Regions from separate parts of the Homo sapiens genome. Here region 1 is linked to region 2. The links are contacts of gene promoters, found by promoter capture Hi-C in blood cells and fetal thymus (Javierre and others, 2016). All regions are on one chromosome and are shown on one strand. Each heading gives the region's core, a stretch centred on a gene start or on the middle of the fragment in contact. The rest is flanking DNA. Distances are from core to core; before and after follow the strand shown. Region 1 overlaps PCDHB1 (protocadherin beta 1). Region 2 holds the start of PCDHA3 (protocadherin alpha 3).

Region 1 (4,447 bases), core at 85-2,584, 260 kb after region 2:
AGCAAATTAAGACAAAGAATGGAAATAATTAGGGCAATTACTCTCTCCAAAGTGTCAAGTGATATTATAACTATTTCTATGTATTCAAAGCTATAACCTAAGAACCTTGAAAAGTGTCTTGTACAAAAAGGCTTTTTATTAGGAAATAATTCTAGACTCATAAAATTGCAAAAATACTATAGATAGTTCCTGTATATCCTTCACCTAACTTCCCGGAATGCTAACATCTTATATAACCATAGTAGTTATCAAAATTAAGAAATTAACCTTGGTATAATTCTATGAAGTAAACTACAGATCTTATTCAAATTTAACAGTTTTCCCCCAATGTCCTTTTTCTATTCAAGGATCCAATCCAGGATCCTGCAAAGCATTTGTTATGGCTCCTTAGTCTCTACCACCTGTGACAGTTCCTTACTCTTACCTTGTCTATCATGACTTGAGATTTTTGAAGAGTACTAGCCAGTTATTTGTAGAATGCCCCTCAGTTTGGGATTCTTTGTTTTCTCATTATTAAACTGAGGTAATGCATTATTGGGAAAAATACTGCAGAAATGATATTGTATCCTTTTCAGTGCATCACGTCAGCAGGTATGTGATGCCAATGTCACACTACTGGTGATATTAATCTTTTTTCTTTTATTGTGGTAAAGAACTTATAAAATGTACCATGTTAGCCATTTTTAAGTATGTTAGCCATTTTTAAGTAATGTTAAGGTGATGTTAATTTTGATCGCTTGGTTAACATAATGTCTGCCACGTTTCTCTACTATAAAGTTACTTTTTTCTCTTTGTAATTAATAAACACTTGGGGGATATGCTTTGAAACTATGCAAATATGATGTTTCTGCTTAAACCAATTTTAGTATCCATTGCTAGATATTTCCTGTGGCAATTAATATTGTGGCATTCTAATGGTGATTTTCTATTTCTCTATTTCCTTTTACATTAATTAAAATTCTTCTGGAAGGAAAACTTGTTACTTTCCCCCCCACTTATTTAGTTAGTTATTTCTTTACATAAGGATACCTGGATATCTCCTCTATTATTTGGGTTACAAACTAATCCTATCATTTACTTTGTTGTTCAGCAAACTCTTTTATCTGAGATGAAGAGCAGATTTTTAAGACTGGAATTATCCATATAGAATACATTTTTATCAAAATTAGTATTTCTTTGTAACTCTACATGTTAGATTATTTTAAACAATCATAAAGTAACCCCATTAAGGTTCATGCATAAAGTTTTAACTTTAAATGAAAATTATACTAACATAATTTTAAATTAGTCATACATTTTAAAATAGATATAAACTGAAAATTTTAAAATTTGTTGTGCAGACATGTTTATATAGTTTAAGCTATATATACCTGAGATACTATTTAAAAATAGACTTATATGCTGAAATTAGACTTACAGATATACAAAAAATGGAATTGGTCTGTCTGATATTATGTAATTCTCCTAAAAATAAAGAATTTCTTTATCATGTTTGTGCATTTTTTGTTGTTTTCCATTTAGGGATGAATTTGTCTTATTCTTGGAAGCATAATTCATTCATATGATTATCCCATATAAATAGCTATTTTCTGTAGAGTTTAATATCTTCAAAGTATGTGACTAAGTGGACATTCATTCTTCAACCAAAAGTCTGACTTCATTTTCAAATATGTGTAACACTTTTAAAAAACATTATTAAAGTATTTGTTGTGTTTATATAACACTGAAACAGGCCGGGCATGGTGGCTCACACCTGTAATCCCAACACTTTGGGAGGCCAAGGTGGGGAGATCACCTGAGGTCAGGAGTTCGAGACCAGCCTGGCCAACACGGTGGAAACCCCTCTCTACTAAAAATACAAAAATTAGCCAGGCATGGTGGCTCACACCTGTAGTCCCAGCTACTTGGGAGGCTGAGGCACGAGAATTGCTTGAACCCAGGAGGCAGAGATTGCAGTGAGCTCACATCATGCCACCACGCTCTAGCCTGGGCAACAGAGTAAGACTCAGTCTCAAAAAAACAAACAAAAAAACCCCCAAAAACAAACAAACAAAAAAACCACTGAAACAGAATGTGAAAAAGTGAAAGTAACAAAAGTTTTCTGGTCAAGCTGGTGAAGTAAGTTTATGCTTCTGTGTACCACGCTCTGCTCTAAATACAGCAGTAACAGGTAAAAATTAAAAATTAAAAAAAATGCGGCTGGGCGTGGTGGCTTGCACCTGTAATCCCAGAAGGCCAAGGCAGGCGGATCACCTGAGGTCAGGAGTTCGAGACCAGCCTGACCAATATGATGAAACCCCGTCTCTACTAAAAATACAAAAATTAGCCAGGTGTGGTGGCATGAACCTGTAATCCCAGCTACTTGGGAGGCTGAGACAGGAGAATCGCTTGAACCCAGGAGGCGGAGGATGCAGTGAGCCGAGATCAGGCCATTGCACTCCAGCCTGGGCAACAAGAGCTAAACTCCGTACCCCCCACTACCCGCCCCTGGCCAAAAAAAAAAAAATGCAAGGCCAGGCACGGTGGCTCATGCCTGTAATCCCAGCACTTTGGGAAGCTGAGGTGGGTGGCCAAGGTCAGGAGTTCGAGACCAGCTTGGCCAACATGGTGAAACCCTGTCTCTACTACAAAATACAAAAATTAGCTGGGCGTGGTGGCATGCACCTGTAATCCCACCTACTCAGGAGGCTGAGGCATAAGAATCGCTTGAAGCCAGGAGGCAGAGGTTGCAGTGAGCCGAGATTACACCACTGCACTCCAGCCTGGGCGACAGAGTGAGACTCCATCTCAAAAAAAAAAAAAAAAAAAAAACCAAAAACAAGGAAAACCAGAAATGAAACAGACATAAAATGGTAAGTGGGGATAAAATCCTTGGATTTCCAAGCTATCAGGATGGGAAGTTGGCATAGGCTACCATTGGTTTGGCTCTTATGGGCTCTCAGGAACAAAATGTTCACCATGAAAAATGGAGAATAAAAGCCAGTGTCATTGGTTAGAGCCAAGAGGTAGGATGGGTCAAGGAAGGTTGAAAAGCCATTGCCAAAAAATTCCTGAAGCTATACATTATGGTATGTTGCAGGCCTATGAAGGCTGGAGGACACAGAAACAACATCCAGAATATGTACTGGGCTCTGTAGCCAACAGACTTAATGTAGTCATCTGTACTATTTCCAGTACCATGCTGGGTCAGAAGCCCAAATCATTACTATACAACCTGATTCTAGACCATGTCCAGGGTCTAGGAAATGGACATAAGTAGAGAAAGGAATGAAAAGGAAGACATTTTCAAAAAGTGTCATTCAACATAAAACTGTTTAAGATGCTTGCAGAGATGAATTTAGAAGTTATACCCACCAAAGATAGTAAGTTATGAAATAAAAAAAGACTGAAATAAAGTAAGAATGGATCCATATAAATATAGCCAACCAGAAATTTTAGAAATGAAACTTATTAATTGTAATAAAACCTCAATAGATAGTATAAACTTCAATCTGGAAGCTAATGAAGACTAAATTAGTAAATTGGTATGTAACTATGGAATTATATATGGACACGTGGATATTTACTCTATTATTTAGGTTATAATTCAATTCTATCATTTATTTTGTTGTTCAGTAAACCCTTTCAACAACCCTTATTTTGTTGTTCAGTAAACCCTGTTTGTTCAGAATAACCCTTTGTTGTTCAGTAAACCCTTTTATCTGAGATAAAGGAAGATTTTTAAGATCTGCCCAATAACTGAACAAAAAGATACAAATTACGAAAGAGTATTTAAAGATGTTATCTACTGTGATAAACCACACTGAAACTTAAAGGCATAGAACAGACATATTATGCTCAGGGACTCCATGGATCAGGGATTCAGACAAGACCCAATGAGGATGAATTGTCTCTGCTCTGTGATGCCTGAGGCCTCAGGTAGAAAGACTCAAAGGCTGAGAGTGACATAGTGGCAGTGAGCTAGTATCATTTGGAGGTGACCTCTCTTCCATGATTGATGCTGGCAGTGAACCATAATACCTGTCTATGTGGCCTGGGCTTCTTTAAAACATGGTAGCTGGGTTACAACAGCAAGTATCACTTTCACCACACTTTCCATTGGTCAAGCAGTCACAGAGACCAAATTCAAGATAAGGGGACATATGTCCTACCTCTTGAATAAAGGAGTGGTAAAGAATTTGGAGAAAAGTTTTTAAAGCTGCCACAGGAGACATGGAAGATAGATGGAAAAACTCTAATATAGGTCCCAGAGACATTCCAGAAGAAGAATTGAGGAAATGGCAGAGAAGAGACATATATTGATTCTGGTTCTTGCCAAGACGGCAGAGTAGCATGGGTTACAGATACTGCAAGAGCAGTCATGGAGGAACCATATATTGAAACATTATACAACTTATGTGGTTGGGTGGTTGGCTTATGCCTGTAATTCTAGCACTCTGGGAGGCTG
Region 2 (4,452 bases), core at 1,297-3,796:
TTGATAAATCATCCTTTCAGTATCATTATCATTAGGCCAATGTGTGCAGGCCTCCCACTGCAGAGATTGACTACTTTTTTCTGGCATCTAATTCTATGCGTGGGAATACATTTTCCATTAATGTGAGCTCACTCAATTTTACCTGGAAGCATCCATATTCCTAATGAAATTGGAATTTTTCCAAAAGATGAGGCCTGGTCTTGGATGACTACATTTTCACTTGAAACATTTATTTTGGGTAATTATAACACTGAACTCGACAAGTAAATGTTACACTTGGAAAGAACTTTTTTAGCTTTTCCAACCAAAGGCAGATGTATTGCAATAAAATAACTGTCTTAAACGGTCCTCTACTATTTAGTTCTTAGTTATTTGCTGTTTATTCTAAATATATGTGCATATTGATAAATCATAGAAATAACTTCCACTAGTGATCTTACCTTTAGCCATTTCATAGTTAGGTCAGAATATCCATTTCCAAGTAATACTTGACCACTATGTTTCTACCATAGGTAAATGATAAGCTTCTAAAATTATATTCACATATATCCAAATCTCCAGGAGTCACAATCTGTTGCTCTATAAGTTTTTTCAAAACATTCTTATTTACATTTTTTCTTGGTTGTCTAAGTGACATCTAGGTGGTAGTAGAAATTATTCACTGATACTTTATCTACAAAATGGCTCAATCTTCTAAACTCATAGTTCCTTTAATATTACCTTTATCTCTTAATAATCAGTATGGAGTCTACTCTGCTATAAATTCTCATGTGACATTCCATTTTGCAATTAGTATAACTCTTAAAGGTACTGAAAAGTGCAGTATTACAATAAGTTGTCAAAGGCATCTCATTACTATGAAGTCCATGAAGTTTAAAAATTTTAAATTTATCTCTTATTTTCAAACTAGCTACCATCTTTAAAAATTCAGCAAAGTGGTAACTGGAATATTAATAGCTATAATTATTTCTTAGGTCCATGCTTTTCAGAAATAATGCTTAAATGTTTACTTACTTCTTCATAATATAGCACAATATAATCATTTAGAAATTATGTAAGTTTGATATTAACAAATATCATTAACTTACATTTTTATTTATCTTGCTTGAAAAAGTTAATTCAAAATATTAATTTATTTATTCATGAAAACAACAATTGATAATTTATCCTATTCTAAATATGAATGATAAAATCTGAGTAAGTTGCAGTCCTGGCTTCCATTTCATGAATACACAGGAAACAAAAGCTGAAATGAAAACTTTTCCCCTAAATATTTAAATCACATGTTTGATTTCATTTTTAAATGGTCTGGGTATAAGCAAAAATTTGTACATTATTTTATTTCTCTAAATTTGACCTCTTTCCATAAATTTTCTTTGCCCCACTTCCAAATGCGGCGAGAATTCATGCTTCTCATTGAATTCACAGATATCTTTAGAATGTTTTATTGCTTAGTGTTAAATATGTTGAGTAAATACTGGCTTATGTTCCTAGGTTACTTTTCTCCCTTCACTGTTTAGTTAAATAATCAATTCTTTCAAGTAACAACTTTTAAAAAAACTGGAATCTAGAAATTCATCAGGAGTGGAGATCATCAAAAACGTAATTACTTTATATTGTTAACATTTTAGTATATACAGGTAAATTCAAATACATAAAGAGTGTGGAAAAATTAAACCTAATATATTCTTAATTGATGTGATGTGAGTGTAACAAATATACAAATCACATTCCCACAATAGGAAACAAATTTCCTGTTTGAATTTCTCTGTAAAGGACCGACTTCTGAAATCTTTATGTAAGTTACAGTCAAGACAGTTGATGAGGCTATAGTTCTTGAAAAAGGGGCATGGGAGGGAATTACAGACATTCTACAAATTTAAAAAACCATAAATGTACATATTTTAAGAAATTAACAGTTGCTGTAATAACATAAAAGTAGATATATGTATGTTTTAATATATACAGCACACACACACTTTTAAATACTTCAACATCTCAATGTTTTGATGATCATAAATCTGAAAGGATCTGATTTTTCTATAAAATGTAACTTGGGTGGTAAAGAGGTTAATGGTAAGTTGTCTTGAATCAGATTGAAATCCCATCGTACCAAGAGATAATATCGTTTTACTTAACCTCTATGTGTTTATAAAAAGCGAATAATATTAAAACTTATTTCAGAGGATTGTGATAATTTAACGGGATAATTCCATTAAGACAAATAGAAAAGTGGCTGTCACATGGGAAATATTTCCAATAGATGTCCACTGTTAAAACAGGAATCACAATATTTTAGTGTATGTCATGAATTAGCACAATTGATAGTGAATTAGTATAAAAGTTCTAAGGAAATATTTAGATAAAATATAAGGACTTTGAGGAGTGACCGAAGGATATTACAATTGAAACTAGAAATTTTGGGAAAGTTCAAACGACATACAAGGAAAAGAAGATACGTTTACATATTTAATACTTACACGTTTAGCCACATGATGTCGCTGTCCACCACAAGGTCTTTCTCCACAAAAGAAATAACAGCGTGCATTACGTATTCAGATACTGCTTTGCTTCATCCTCTCTAAAATTTAACACCGAGGAGTTTAAGAAATGAAGATAAGGAACTCGAATTATTTTTAAACTTTGGATCAATGTAAAGGCAATCTAATATTTGGAAAATACTTGCAATGTTGTTCTCCTGGCGAGAAGATCCTGGAGCCCAGTGCCTGCTGCTTTCTCTTCTGCTCCTCGCAGCCTCGGAGGTGGGGAGCGGCCAGCTCCACTACTCCGTCTCTGAGGAGGCCAAGCATGGCACCTTCGTGGGCCGCATCGCGCAGGACCTGGGGCTGGAGCTGGCGGAGCTGGTGCCGCGCCTGTTCCGGGTGGCGTCCAAAAGACACGGGGACCTTCTGGAGGTAAATCTGCAGAATGGCATTTTGTTTGTGAATTCTCGGATAGACCGCGAGGAACTGTGCGGGCGGAGCGCGGAGTGCAGCATCCACCTGGAGGTGATCGTGGACAGGCCGCTGCAGGTTTTCCATGTGGAGGTGGAAGTGAAGGACATTAATGACAACGCGCCAGTTTTTCCAATGGCTGTAAAGAATCTGTTTATTTCCGAATCCCGACAGCCTGGCTCTCGGTTTTCGCTAGAGGGCGCATCAGATGCAGATATCGGAACAAATTCGTTGTTGACTTACAGTCTTGATTCCACTGAATATTTTACCTTGGACGTTAAAAGAAATGATGAGGAAATTAAATCCCTTGGACTCGTGTTGAAAAAAAATTTAAATCGAGAGGACACTCCTAAGCATTATTTACTAATAACAGCAATTGATGGTGGGAAACCAGAGCTCACTGGCACGACTCAACTAAAGATCACTGTTTTAGATGTAAACGACAACGCCCCAGCGTTTGAGAGGACGATCTATAAAGTCAGATTACTCGAAAATGCACCAAATGGTACCCTAGTGGTGACCGTTAACGCCACCGATTTGGATGAAGGAGTAAATAAGGATATCGCGTATTCTTTCAATACGGACATGTCAGCAGATATTCTGTCAAAATTCCATTTAGATCCAGTCAATGGACAAATCAGTGTAAAGGGTAACATAGATTTCGAGGAAAGTAAGTCATATGAAATCCAGGTAGAAGCCACGGATAAAGGAAATCCCCCAATGTCAGATCACTGCACAGTTCTACTCGAAATTGTGGACATCAATGATAATGTACCTGAGTTAGTTATTCAATCACTATCTTTACCTGTATTAGAAGACTCTCCACTTAGCACAGTCATCGCTCTGATCAGCGTGTCCGACCGCGACTCAGGAGTCAATGGACAGGTCACCTGCTCGCTGACGCCCCACGTCCCCTTCAAGCTGGTGTCCACCTTCAAGAATTACTACTCATTGGTGCTGGACAGCCCTCTGGACCGCGAGAGCGTGTCGGCCTATGAGCTGGTGGTGACTGCTCGGGACGGGGGCTCGCCTTCACTGTGGGCCACGGCCAGCGTGTCCGTGGAGGTGGCCGACGTGAACGACAATGCGCCGGCATTCTCGCAGTCCGAGTACACGGTGTTCGTGAAGGAGAACAACCCGCCGGGCTGCCACATCTTCACGGTGTCTGCGCGGGACGCGGACGCGCAGGAGAACGCCCTGGTGTCCTACTCGCTGGTGGAACGGCGGGTGGGGGAGCGCGCGCTGTCGAGCTACGTGTCGGTACACGCGGAGAGCGGCAAGGTGTACGCGCTGCAGCCGCTGGACCACGAGGAGCTAGAGCTGCTGCAGTTCCAGGTGAGTGCGCGCGATGCGGGCGTGCCGCCTCTGGGCAGCAACGTGACGCTGCAGGTGTTCGTGCTGGACGAGAACGACAACGCGCCGGCACTGCTGATGCCTCGGGTGGGTGGCATCGGTGGCGCAGTGAGCGAGCTGGTGCCGCGGTCAGTGGGTGCGGGCC

Evidence for each region. The method cuts DNA at HindIII sites, captures the fragments that hold promoters and counts their contacts. A CHiCAGO score of 5 or more calls a contact.
Region 1: a contact is called between a fragment that was not itself captured here and the fragment with the promoter of PCDHA3 in region 2, in 1 of 17 cell types (M2 macrophages). The highest score is 6.4, in M2 macrophages.

What each region holds. Positions count from the first base shown.
Region 1 is chr5:141,057,856-141,062,302 of GRCh38, forward strand. It overlaps PCDHB1 (protocadherin beta 1), which reads left to right. Exons shown (of 1, transcript NM_013340.4): 1 at 1-1,491. The region is part of intron 1 of PCDHB1-AS1 (PCDHB1 antisense RNA 1); the gene reads right to left. It also overlaps PCDHB@. Among named protein-coding and RNA genes, the nearest start is that of PCDHB1, 8.7 kb to the left of the region's middle. The HindIII fragment of the contact is 6,836 bases long and covers 1-4,447 here.
Region 2 is chr5:140,798,511-140,802,962 of GRCh38, forward strand. It overlaps PCDHA3 (protocadherin alpha 3), which reads left to right and starts at 2,547. Exons shown (of 4, transcript NM_018906.3): 1 at 2,547-4,452. The coding sequence starts at 2,688. All of the region lies in intron 1 of PCDHA1 (protocadherin alpha 1), which reads left to right. All of the region lies in intron 1 of PCDHA2 (protocadherin alpha 2), which reads left to right. It also overlaps PCDHA@. The HindIII fragment of the contact is 7,276 bases long and covers 523-4,452 here.